2 separate regions of the Homo sapiens genome follow, and region 1 is linked to region 2. The links are contacts of gene promoters, found by promoter capture Hi-C in blood cells and fetal thymus (Javierre and others, 2016). All regions are on one chromosome and are shown on one strand. The core of a region is centred on a gene start or on the middle of the fragment in contact, and the rest is flanking DNA. Distances in the headings are between cores, read along the strand shown. Region 1 overlaps ANKRD17 (ankyrin repeat domain 17). Region 2 holds the start of STAP1 (signal transducing adaptor family member 1).

Region 1 (6,319 bases), core at 3,231-5,730, 5.5 Mb before region 2:
CTTTGAAAAAGAGTTTTATATTTTTTACATGGCAGATATAAGTTTGTATGAGGCAGATGCCCCTTTGCATTATATAGGAGAGCTAATAGTTACATCATACCTCAAAAATAAGAAAGCAAGTAGCCATCTCTATTTTATTCATCGTCCTCTCCTTCTGACTGGTTTTCCCCTGGGTATTTGGGTAGTCACAGCCTATCTTATCTAGAAAAGAGGGAACCAGATACCCTTTATTGGTAATTGCTCCCTTGAGTTTCCATAAATATCAAATATTTTCCTGAAGATCCAGCACTAAGGTTTTATATGGCTATTTTTGGCACTATCAGGATTCCTGCATCATTTTAAGACATCTTCCCAGAGGAGTTACAATAATTATCCTATTAATAGACAAACTACTAATGAATTTTTAGTAGACGGAGTCATCCCAGATACCAAGATTTAAAATAAAATACTGTTTTCTTACTCAGTTGTATTATTTTCCTTGTTTACTTCTATTATTTTTAGTGTTGATTAACTGTTTCAATATTTTTAGGATTAAATGTTTCAATAACATTGTGGATTACATAGGCTTTTATGTGCAGTGGTTTTTCTAACTGTAGTGTATTTTACAGTAGGAAAATGGTTTCTTAGTCTAAGGAAACAATAGTGAAATGTATTTTTGAAAAATAAGTCATTTACTATTCTTCTGAAAAATAAAAGTAGTAATTCAGGACAGTTTATTGCTTTGTTTGTAGAATACCTCAGGAATGGTAAGAAAATTGCTGCCCAGCTTTTGTTATCTGTCCTTTGTTTGTATGTGTGTATGTATATACACACAAAACTGTGTGTGTGTTTGTGTACATAAATACATATTAAAAACACTTTACATACTCAAAAGTAGGGAAAATTCTACCTAATTTTTTTTTCTCAATTTATAGGGGTGGCACTGAATCAACAAGACAAGCAACTCAATTGATTAATGCTTTGATCAAGGATCCAGACAAAGAAATTGATGAACTTATTCCAAAGAATCGTTTGAAAAGCTCCTCAGCAAATTCCAAAATAGGGTCATCAGCACCTACCACCACTGCTGCTAACACTTCCTTAATGGGAATTAAAATGACAACTGTAGCTCTGTCATCAACATCTCAAACTGCCACAGCACTCACTGTGCCTGCAATTTCTTCTGCATCCACTCACAAAACCATTAAGAACCCAGTGAATAATGTGAGGCCTGGTTTTCCAGTTTCTCTTCCATTAGCATATCCTCCTCCACAGTTTGCACATGCTTTGCTTGCTGCTCAGACTTTCCAGCAGATCCGTCCACCAAGGTTGCCCATGACCCACTTTGGAGGTACTTTTCCACCAGCTCAATCCACTTGGGGTCCGTTTCCTGTCAGGCCTTTGAGCCCTGCCAGAGCTACTAACTCGCCTAAGCCTCACATGGTGCCTCGCCATAGCAATCAGAATAGCAGTGGTTCTCAGGTGAATTCAGCAGGTTCTTTAACTTCAAGCCCAACAACTACAACCAGTTCATCAGCTTCAACGGTGCCTGGTACATCTACAAATGGCAGTCCAAGTTCACCTTCTGTCCGAAGGCAGCTTTTTGTCACAGTTGTGAAGACATCCAATGCCACCACAACAACAGTCACAACCACGGCAAGCAACAACAACACTGCACCCACAAATGCCACATATCCTATGCCTACTGCCAAAGAACACTATCCAGTATCATCCCCATCTTCCCCATCACCACCAGCCCAGCCAGGAGGGGTTTCTAGAAACAGCCCTTTGGATTGTGGATCAGCATCTCCAAATAAAGTGGCATCTTCCTCCGAACAGGAAGCAGGTAGTCCACCAGTAGTAGAAACAACAAACACTAGACCTCCAAACAGCAGCAGTTCTTCTGGGAGTTCATCAGCTCATTCTAATCAGCAACAACCTCCGGGATCTGTTTCTCAGGAACCAAGACCACCTCTTCAGCAGTCTCAGGTTCCTCCCCCGGAAGTTAGAATGACTGTTCCTCCTTTAGCAACAAGTTCTGCTCCAGTGGCGGTGCCTTCTACTGCCCCAGTGACTTACCCTATGCCTCAGACACCAATGGGATGCCCCCAGCCTACTCCTAAAATGGAAACCCCTGCTATTAGACCACCCCCTCATGGCACAACTGCCCCTCACAAGAATTCAGCTTCAGTGCAAAATTCATCTGTTGCAGTCCTCAGTGTCAATCACATTAAAAGACCTCACAGTGTTCCCTCTTCTGTCCAGCTACCTTCGACCTTAAGTACACAAAGTGCTTGTCAGAATTCAGTACATCCAGCAAATAAGCCTATTGCTCCCAATTTCAGTGCCCCCTTACCATTTGGGCCCTTTAGCACATTGTTTGAAAACAGCCCTACTTCTGCTCATGCCTTCTGGGGAGGATCTGTTGTTTCATCTCAGTCAACACCAGAATCTATGCTATCAGGAAAATCCTCATATTTGCCAAATTCAGATCCTTTACATCAGTCTGATACTTCCAAAGCTCCAGGTTTTAGACCACCATTACAGAGACCTGCTCCAAGTCCCTCAGGTGAGTTTATATTTTCTGAGATTCTGCAGCTGTTCATTTGCACAAGTGATGTGAAAATTCTTGGTCATTTTCTAATATTTTTATTCTCTGGACGATATAGACAAAGATTGTTGGATTTAGTTAACTCAGATGCTGTTGTTTGTGTTTAGTATGGTGTTATTTTTAAAAATCTTTTTAAAAGCTACCATAGATTTTTATTTAATTTTCCATAAATAAGTCTTCTGATCAGGCGGGGTTTTTTTGTTTGTTTGCTTTTTGAGACAGAGTCTCGCTCTGTCACCCAGGCTGGAGTGCAGTGGCATGATCTCAGCTCACCGCAACCTCTGCCTCCCAGATTCAAGTGATTCTCCTGCCTCAGCCTCCCGAGTAGCTGGGATTACAGACGTGCACCACCATGCCTGGCTGATTTTTGTATTTTTAGTAGAGATGGGGTTTCACCATGTTGACCAAGCTGGTCTCGAACTCTCAACCTCAGGTGATTCACCCACCTTGGCCTCCCAAAGTGCTAGGATTACAGGCGTGAGCCACAGTTCCTGGCCTAGGCGTGTTTTTCTCTCTCAGAAGTCTTTCATGTTTTAATTTAATAAGGTACTGTCACCAAAAGTTTACATTTATTACAAATACAAAATAACAGATTTAAAAAATTGGGTTTCATTTCGCATTATCTTTTTTATTTCTAAAATAATTTTAAAAATAGAGCTACACAGTCTGATATGGTAGCCAATAACCATGTGTACTTTTTAAATTTAAATTAATGAAAATTTTAAAAATAAAAAAATTAGCTTCTTAGGCTACCCATATTTAAGTGCTTAAAAAACACTTGTGGCTGGTAGCTACCATATTGGACAGCAAAGATCTAGAACATTTCTATTATCCAAAATTCTACTGGGCAACACTGATATATGTAGAAGATACAAAGATCTCCTGATTGTAAGCTATTGCTTTTTTAAAAAAAACTTTTTACTTTAAAATATTTTTAGATTTATAGAAGAATTCTATAATTCCTCAGCTTCCCTTCATGTGACCATCTTACATAACCATGATACATTTCGAAACTAAAAAAATTAATATTGGTGTAGTACTACTAACTAGACTACAGATTTTAGGCAGATTTCACAAGTTTTTCAAGTAATATCCTTTTTCTATTGTAGGATCTAATCCAGGATGCCAGTTTCCATTTAAAGCTGTTGGGTTTTAATATAAGCATTTCAAGTAATTAAAGATAGTCCACGTAAGAGATGGACACACTATGGTCTATGGGCCAAATTTGGCCTGCTGCCTGTTTTTACATTTCTTAAATGTTTAAAAAAAAATTTTTTTTTTTAAGAATAGGCTTGGCACGGTGGCTTGTGCCCGTAATCCCAGCACTTTGGGAGGCTGAGGTGGGTCGATTGCTTAAGCCCAGGAGTTCCAGACCAGCCTGGGCTTAAGGGGAGACCCCATCTCTACAAAAATATAAAAATTAGCTGGGCATGGTGGTGCATACCTGTAGTCCCAGCTACTTGGGGGGCTGAGGTGGAAGGATGACTTGAGCCCTAGAGGCAGATGTTACAGTGAGCTGAGATCACACCTCTGCATTCCAGCCTGGGTGGAGACCCTGTCTCAAAAAAAAAAAAAAAAATTTAAAAAGAATAAACATGCAACACAAAATATGAAATTTTAATTTCAGTGTTTGTAGAGAAAGCTTTACTGAAACACAGCAATGCCCATTCATTTGCATATTGTATAAGGCTACTTTTATGCTACAATGACAGAATTGAGTAGCTGGGACAGAGACCATGTGACCTGCAAAGCCTAAAATATTTGGTATTTGGCTCTTGGTTGCCAACTCGTTATCTGTGTTATTGGAAATATGACATTCCGGGACAAAAATTTCCAAGTTTAATGGGAACTCAATGTTATTTTTACCTATTTCTGTAACATGTAAATAAAATTTAATGAAGGTGGTCAGTAAATATTCTTTGCTAAAAGTCAACTGAAATATTTATGTGTACTATGAAAAATAATTTATTTTATATTAAAACAATAGAATCAATATAATTAGATTTTAGATCATTATGTGCCAGTGCGTAGGAAATGCTTTAAGTTTGATTTTTATAGTAGTTGGAATTTAATACTTTACCTTTCCAAAAATGTGATAATCTAGGTGTGGGATTCAGAAAGGCTAAAATTAAGCTTTAGAGAACAAAAAAATAAATTCCTATTTTTTGAAAAGGTATAGAAGAAAGACCTCTGTAAGAAAGGTGAGGTTTTTAGGGAGTGTATAGTTGATGAGAGCCAAAATTAGCATTGAAGTTTAACTTACAAGTCAATTACCTAATTCAGGTCATTTTGAGTTAAAGATACTCCTTTTATTACATAGGAAGTATGTCCTTTTATTTTCTCCTAAACCTCTCTCAGATCCTAATTTTCACTTCTCTCTACTTCTTCCTAATTCATTTTGTGTTCCATATTTTTCTTCCTTTGTTTAACTTTTCTTATGTAAATAATTTGATTATTTGTATTTTAGACTCAGATCTGTTTTTATAGTTTGTATTTTGAAAAGTTATTTAAGTCACATAAAGATCTAAGGACAGAATAAGCAGCATAGTAAATACTTGGTATTTCCACATTTATTAATATATTCTCTGCTTGTTAACATCTTTTCAAACTCTCTCCCTCACTCCCCTCCCTTCCTCTCTCCCCTTTTCCTTCTTCCCTCCTTTTTTTTCCTCTCTTTTGCTGCTTCCTTTTCTTCCCCCTCTCTTGTCTTGTCTTACCTGTCTCTCCCCTTCTTCATCCTTCTTTCCTCCTTTTCCCCCTTTCTATCCTATCTCTATTTTCTTTTCTTCCCCATCTTTTGTCAAATCATGAGAAGATAACTTTCAAACATGATACTTTACCCCTAAATACTTTGATATGGATCTTCACAATGTTTGCCTTCACAGCTATGCCACTATTACTGCACCCAATAAAATGAGGATGAATTTGATAATAACACCCAACATAAAATGCCATTTTCCCAAATATATTCTTTCTGACTATGTGTGTCTCTTTTCCTTGCCATTTGATCCAAGACTCAATCAAGATTCACACATTACTTTTGGTTGTTATGTGTCTTTGGTCTCCCTCTGTCTAAAGTATTCTACTGCCTTCCTCTGTAATTCTTGACATTGACTCTGTGGGCAAGTTTAATTCAGTGATTATGTCAATCCATGATTAGATTCAGATCAAATATTTCAGGAAGGAGCATCATATAGGTGATGTTTTGAACCTCACACTGCATTTTATCAATGACAGATTGGCTGGATGTGGTGGCTCACACTTGTAATCCCAACACTTTGGGAGACTGAGACAAGAGGCTCATTTGAGGCCAGAAATTTAAGACCTGCCTGGGCAACATTGTGAGACCTTGCCTCTACAAAAATAAATAAAAAAGCTGGGTGTGGTGGCATGTACCTGTAATCCCACCTACTTGGGAGGCTGAGGCAGGAGGATCACTTGAGCCCAGTAGATGGAGGCTGGGGTGAGCTATGAGCAACAGAGCAATCTCCTGTCTCCTTAAAAAAAAAGAAAAAATGATAAATTGTTCCAGTATTGGCTGTGGAAAGCATGGCCGTGTGGTTAGTATGTAATTATCAGATCTCTTCATTGTAGAATTGTATCTACAGCCCTTTTTTGCCCTGTAGTTTTATACAACTCTTTGGTCCTTAAACCTATTTAAAATCCTACAGATATATATATATATATATATATATATATATATATTTTTTTTTTTTTTTTTTTTTTTGA
Region 2 (6,505 bases), core at 414-2,913:
GTGAATAAATTGATTGAACACCTACTGAATCCTAGAATGTACCTTAGGAGGCAAGTAGCAAGTAGTATACTCTCTATCTTATAGTTGAAACAGTCTCAAGGAGATTGAGTAACTTGCACAAGATCACAAGCTATAAGTGGCAAAACCATCAGATAAAGGACACTCTAAAATTCTTATTCTTTCTGCTAACCATACCAATGACATGTCTTCTTTAAGCATTTAAAAAAAACTGCTATCATAAACAGTTATTATAAATACCTTGGAAAACATTCAATGAACAACCTGATTTAAATTACTAATTAGAATTTTTTTTTCTCAACTTCCCTTTCCTGGCAAAGTGTGACTATGTGGCTTACCTGTGGTGACAAGATTGAATTTACATTAAAAGCATATAGGATCAATCTAAAAAATTCTAATATAACTGAAAGGTAATTATTTATGCATGTTTAACATCCATAACAGAATACAAATTACCATGTCTTTACTCTCAAATAGTAAATGATCTGATTATATATGTAAGAAATGTGAATATGCTATTATAGATTTTTCATATATATAATTTTTCCACAAGTATTCATAAATCCTCAGAAAATATATTTTAGCATCATTAAACATTTCTGATGGAATTTCTGAAAACCTTAAAATTTTTCTAGTTTTAGTCAGTATACAATTTCATAAAATTTGACCTAACTTAATGATTTTTTTATTTAATAACAGGCAATTTTGGGCTTATTTCTCTAATTAATTTCAAGTCATCCATAATTACTGTTTTAAAAGTAATGATTTTAACTAACTATAAGTTTTAATTATTACATTTAAAAATACAGAATGCTTCATGGATTTTCTTAGAGCAAAGGTATTTATGTAGCTTAGTGTACTTAATACCCACAGTAGTACCCCAAAAATTAAAAGTCACTATCTTGAATAGTATTTTAGAACACATAACTATATATAATGTTAAACAGTATGAACTTTGTCATTTTAACAATTTTTACAAAAGCCATTTTTAATAATTTGATCATTATAAACTTCAAATGACTCAGAACAGGAGCAGGTTTAATTTTAATCATGATATCATTTTATCTTAATGGTACATGTCATCATTGAAGCATAGCAATAAATTGTGGAGAAAATACAAGAAACATTTTATCTCCCAAGCCAAAATCTTTTGTGATATTTAAATAAATTCTTTGGAAATTTAGCTTATTGACTTTTTTATATTAGTGCCTTAATATTACAACCTCTGTTATTATACATATTATATATGTGTATACATACAGGTTTAAGCCAGACATTGTATTTAAATTATGAAAAATTGGAATCATTTTTCTGAGCTCAAAGAAGAGAAGATGATTTAATTTCAACAGAAACAAGGAGGTCTTAACACATCACATCACCATGAAATAAATATTAAATTAAAACAGAAGTCTTAGGTTTAACATTATCATCTATAGACTCACCCGGTATCCTGACCGCTTGATTAATAAAAAACCTTCAAAGTACAAAGGTAGAGCAGTAATCTTTAACCTTTCCTGGAAGATCCTGCGAGGGGCTGGTTTTGGGGGCTTCTTAGCCATCATACCCCTCTCTTTGGTGTGTGGTTTGGTTTCTCGTCTCAAACAAAATGAAATCTTCCTTCTGTGAGAGGAAAAGGCAACTGTTCAAAGAGGAAGTCCCAAATTGCTTTTTAACCACCAACACTACCACCAACAGGACACACACACACACAGACGCACACACACACACACACACTTTTTTTTCCATTACTTTTTGTGAGGTAAGAAAGAACAGGTGTAGACTGACTTTCAGAGGGCAATCTCTGGGTAATCCACATGTGCTTAGATTTAAAGCGCAAAATAAACAGAAGATTAACATCACCAGAAGATGAAAGAAACAGGTGTAGAGATTGTGAACTTTAGGGGAGATATCAAGAACACAGTTATTCTTTCTATCTTTGTTTTTGTTTATTGGTGTCCATTTTTATTTGCAGAAGACATGACTTGAATAAACTCAGCTTCATTAAAAATTACTTCATAGAATAATTTTATTAGTACTACTTCTGTTGGTTAAATATTTTAGGGTCAAGTTTTGTGTAAATAAAAAAAATAGTTGTATCTCATGCTCATTTGATGCTTCACTAAATATAAACCACAATTATGGGAACACGGAATATGGAATTTTTTTCTTTTTTCTTTCTTTCTTTTTTTTTTTTTTTTGCCAGTAGATATTCCAAGTACATGAGTTCCCAATGAATATTTAGTGCTATGTTTTGAATGTGTCCTCCAAAACTTATGTGTTAGAAACTTAATCCCCAATGCAACAGTGTTTAGAAATGGGACTTTTAGAAGGTGATTAAGTCATGAGGCCTCTGCCCTCATGAATGAATGAATTAATTAATGCTGTGGGAGTGGGTTTCTTTCTCTTTTTTCAGAGGCAGGGTCTTGCTCTGTTGCCCAGGCTGGAATACACTGGTGCAATCACAGCTCACTGCAGCCTTGACCTCTCAGGCTCAAACAATCCTCACACATCAGCCTCCTAAGTAGCTGGGACTACAAGGCACGCGCCACCACTCCTAGCTAACTTTTTCATTTTTTGTATAGACAGTATCTCCCTATGTTGCCCAGGTTGGTCTCAAACTCTTGGGCTCAAGCGATTCTCCTGCTGTGGCCTCCCAAAGTGCTGGGATTACATGTGTGAGCCATTGCACCTGGCCTGGAAGTGGGTTTTTTATAAAATCAAGTTTGGCACTTTCTCACATGCTATCATCCTCTCTTGCTCTTCTATCTTCTGCCATGGAATGATGCTGCATGAAGGTCCTCATCAGATGCTGGCCATGTTCTTTGACTTCCAGACTCCAGAACCATGAGCGAAATACATTTCTGTTCATTATAAATTACCAGTCTGTGGCATTCTGTTACAGCAACACAAAGGAGTCTAAGATATTTGGCAAAAAAATATCTGGCAGAGAAAGCTGTAAGTTTTCAAACTTTTATTTTGTTCTTTTGTGCTTTCTGAGCTGCAGACCATTGATACTATGATTCATGGATGGACTTCCCACAGTTATCTAGTGAGATTTATAAAGCTATACTGGGGCCAAAGTGCACTCAATGGTTGCATGTAGGAAATGGTCCTTAAGAGATTGGATTTGGCGTAGCACAGTGCAGGAAATGATGGGAGAAAAGAATACTAGAAGGAATTTTGATTTGTCTTACAGGGGTCCTAAGAATTTCTACCATTGCCTATTTCACACTCAGTATTTCAGAACTACTCTAGATTTAGAACAGCCTGGGCCCAGTGAGACCAGCCTATTATTAGAAATCAAAGCAAGTCAGGAGTCTTCAGTCTGATTCTCCTTTCCTAATGGAGAGACTGCATGGTTTTCTCCACCAGTATGGGTCCCACTGATCCTGCAGCTGTAGATATGGGATGACAAATTGTCTACAAAGTGAGGTAGAACAATACGGACTGATTATCAGTAAGTTAGAGAAGAGTGTTCAGATGTATTATCAAAATGAAAACAGCTCAAGACAGAAATAGGGAGTTGAAGATCCAAAATGACTGCTTTGCTTTTGTAAGTTTAGACCTGCTTCTTGCTACCCAACCTTCAAATAATAAAATATAAGTCCAACTGAATTTTTTGAGGCAAAAACCATAACTATTTTTTAGTTTCGGTATACTAAGAAAGTGACTTGAATAACAGGAAAACCTCCTGATTGAATATATGACCTAATCCACTTTCTTGGCAGCTGTTAGTTGTTGTAATACAGGGGGGAAGTGAAAGGAGGGATTAAGAATTGAAAAATGAAAAGAAGCAAGGATAAAGAAAGAATGCTGGGAATCATCAGTGATTACGCACTGACTTTATGGTCAGAAAGTTTCATAGGTGAGAGAAAATAATACCTCTAAAAAAATGTAAAGGGGATTTTTTGTTGTTGTTAAATAAGCACTTAGTTTTTTTTTTGCCTTTAAAATATAAGCAACAATTTAAAAACAGCTAATCAGACACAGTAAGTTACTTTGGTCTGCTGATTTGTTCGTCAAATTCATTCTTAATATACCAAGAATCAAATTATATCTCCCTGAAAAAGACTACAAAATGCAAAAATCTTGCTTAAACAATATTAACAAGTTAGTCCTGTCTGCAATGACTAGTGTCATTGCACCACTGCACCATTACAATGGAAATCCTCTTACAGATACCTCAAGTCTTAGGCAGTGAAGAATAAATTTGTAGGTAAGGAAATATAGTAGAAAATATGTTTGGACATAGGGCATAAACTAATTTTGCTACTAACCAGCTCTTGAGACCTTGAACAAACCACTTGACTTCTCTGGTATCATAGCTTCCTCACCTATACAAGGAGGCGATGGACTACATGACTTATTGTTTGAAGAGCTGCAAAAGGCTTTTAAGTAGTCTCCTAGTTTCCACTCTTTTTCTTCTTTGATTCATTTAATATTCAACCTAATCAAGATATTCCCCTACTGAAAAGACTTTAAAGGATTCTCATTGCTTTTGAGATTCCTTTTTAAATATTTTTTATTGAACACTAAATACTTATTGAATACCAACAATGGGCTCAAGCATGGCACGTTGGTCCTTTATAGCAGGGCCCCTTTTAAATAATAACTCCTCAAAATACCCTTTGCTCTGGTAATTTCATTTAGTCTCAGTTGCCTGAATACCCTATGATCTTCCCTGTCTCCTCATACCTTTTCAGTCACTGTACTCTGCTTAGATGCCCCTCCTTCTCTTTGTTTATATGGTAATGTCCTACTCGTCCTTCAAGACCCAGGCTGAATCTATCCTTAATTCTGAACATCTCCTAATTTCCTGAAGCTTTCTTCACCCCCACAAAAAAAAAAGTTATTACTCTCATTTCTGCTTTCCCAAAGCACTTTGCACGATTTCTTTCTTATAGTATTTGTCCTGTTGTAGTTATTTGTATACATTGAGTATCAACAAGAAACAGTTTTTCCAAAGGAAAGATTGTGTTGAAGTAGGGGTTGGTTATAAGTAGATTGCAATATCATATATTTACTGAATAGCTTCTAGCTAAAAAATATGATTCTAGTTTGGAGAATTATTAGCTTCCATTGTGACAGGAGTTTCCTTTTTTCTGATATATGTGACCATTGGTTGACATATGATTCTTGTGTTGCCTTGTAGAACAATCATGTTACTATTAAACTATTGGAGCCCAACATTACAGCCATCAGTAGCATCTGTGTCACAGAAGATTGTTACAAATCAGGTTTTATGGCAAATATAACTTAACAACTTTGGGTGAAGTATAAGATTTAACTCATATAAACCAAAATCTCAGTGCTGTATTGACTCCTCTATGTTATAAGGTCATCTGAGTAAAAATCCACATTTTTTACAATAATTGAGGATCTCTAAAATACTTTTCTATCCATTTATTAGTACTGAATCAATCAAATCAACCAACCCTGCTCCAGTACTTCCACATTTCTGACCTTTGTTTTGCTTAATACTTACTGATGATTTATTGCCATATGCATTATAATTTGCGGTAGTATATTTCTAAGATATTTTAATTGAATACATTTATTTTTGCAACTCATACCTGAAGAATACAACTTTAATTTTAACCATTGTGTGAAATACTTATAGCTTATCAATGGCTGGTATGAATCCAATACAATCTTTATTATGAGTAAATTTTTTATTACTATTGATAGAGTTAAGCCACATTTTCTTTTTCTTTTCTTTTCTTTTCTTTTTCTGAGACTGAGTCTTGCTATGTCGCCCAGACTGGAGTGCAGTGGCATGATCTCAGCTCATTTCCACCTCTGCCTCCCAGGCTCATGCCATTCTCCCGCCTCAGCCTCCTGAGTAGCTGGGACTACAGGTGCTCACCACCACACCTGGCTAATTTTTTGTATTTTTAGTAGATATGAGATTTCACCATGTTGGTCAGGCTGGTCTTGAACTCCTTACCTTAAATGATCCGTCCGCCTTGGCCTCCCAAAGCGCTGGGATTTACAGGCATTAGCCACCACACCCAGACATGCAGCATTTTCAGTGGAGAAAATGCACATTGTAATACCACAACTCCAGAGATTATCAGACATACAATATGGAGGGAGCTTCCTACTCCTTTGCCTGAGAATTACTGATACAGTGAGCCATTTTTACTCAGAAAATGTTTCCCTTAAGTCTTTTGAAACAGAAAAAAAAGGTGGGCAATCATTGTTACAGAAGTGATATTAGTAGCTCTGTCAGAACAGTTTAATTTGCTAACCCTTATAATTTTCAGTACAAAGAGTTGCATCTGGGATGATAAAAACTTTTCCTAGTTATGTATTTTCAAACTATTTTTACAGTGGAAAATATCACTTTTGTTACTGAGAAATAGTTTTTGGATGCCAGGTAGATACAGGACACTGGTTTTCACACTAGGTAACTCACAGAATAATGGTAGCTTTAATAGAAACTAGAAATTCAGAGTGGGGAGATAGTTTGGGTGGTAGAGGGATA

The links. Contacts are between HindIII fragments. The CHiCAGO score rates a contact against its expected background, and 5 or more counts as called.
Region 1: a contact is called between a fragment that was not itself captured here and the fragment with the promoter of STAP1 in region 2, in 1 of 17 cell types (total B cells). The highest score is 5.3, in total B cells.

The regions. Positions count from the first base shown.
Region 1 is chr4:73,086,896-73,093,214 of GRCh38, reverse strand. It overlaps ANKRD17 (ankyrin repeat domain 17), which reads left to right. Exons shown (of 34, transcript NM_032217.5): 29 at 915-2,548. Among named protein-coding and RNA genes, the nearest start is that of COX18, 20 kb to the right of the region's middle. The HindIII fragment of the contact is 491 bases long and covers 4,235-4,725 here.
Region 2 is chr4:67,553,885-67,560,389 of GRCh38, reverse strand. It overlaps STAP1 (signal transducing adaptor family member 1), which reads right to left and starts at 1,663. Exons shown (of 9, transcript NM_012108.4): 1 at 1,461-1,663. The coding sequence starts at 1,580. The HindIII fragment of the contact is 12,125 bases long and covers 1-4,842 here.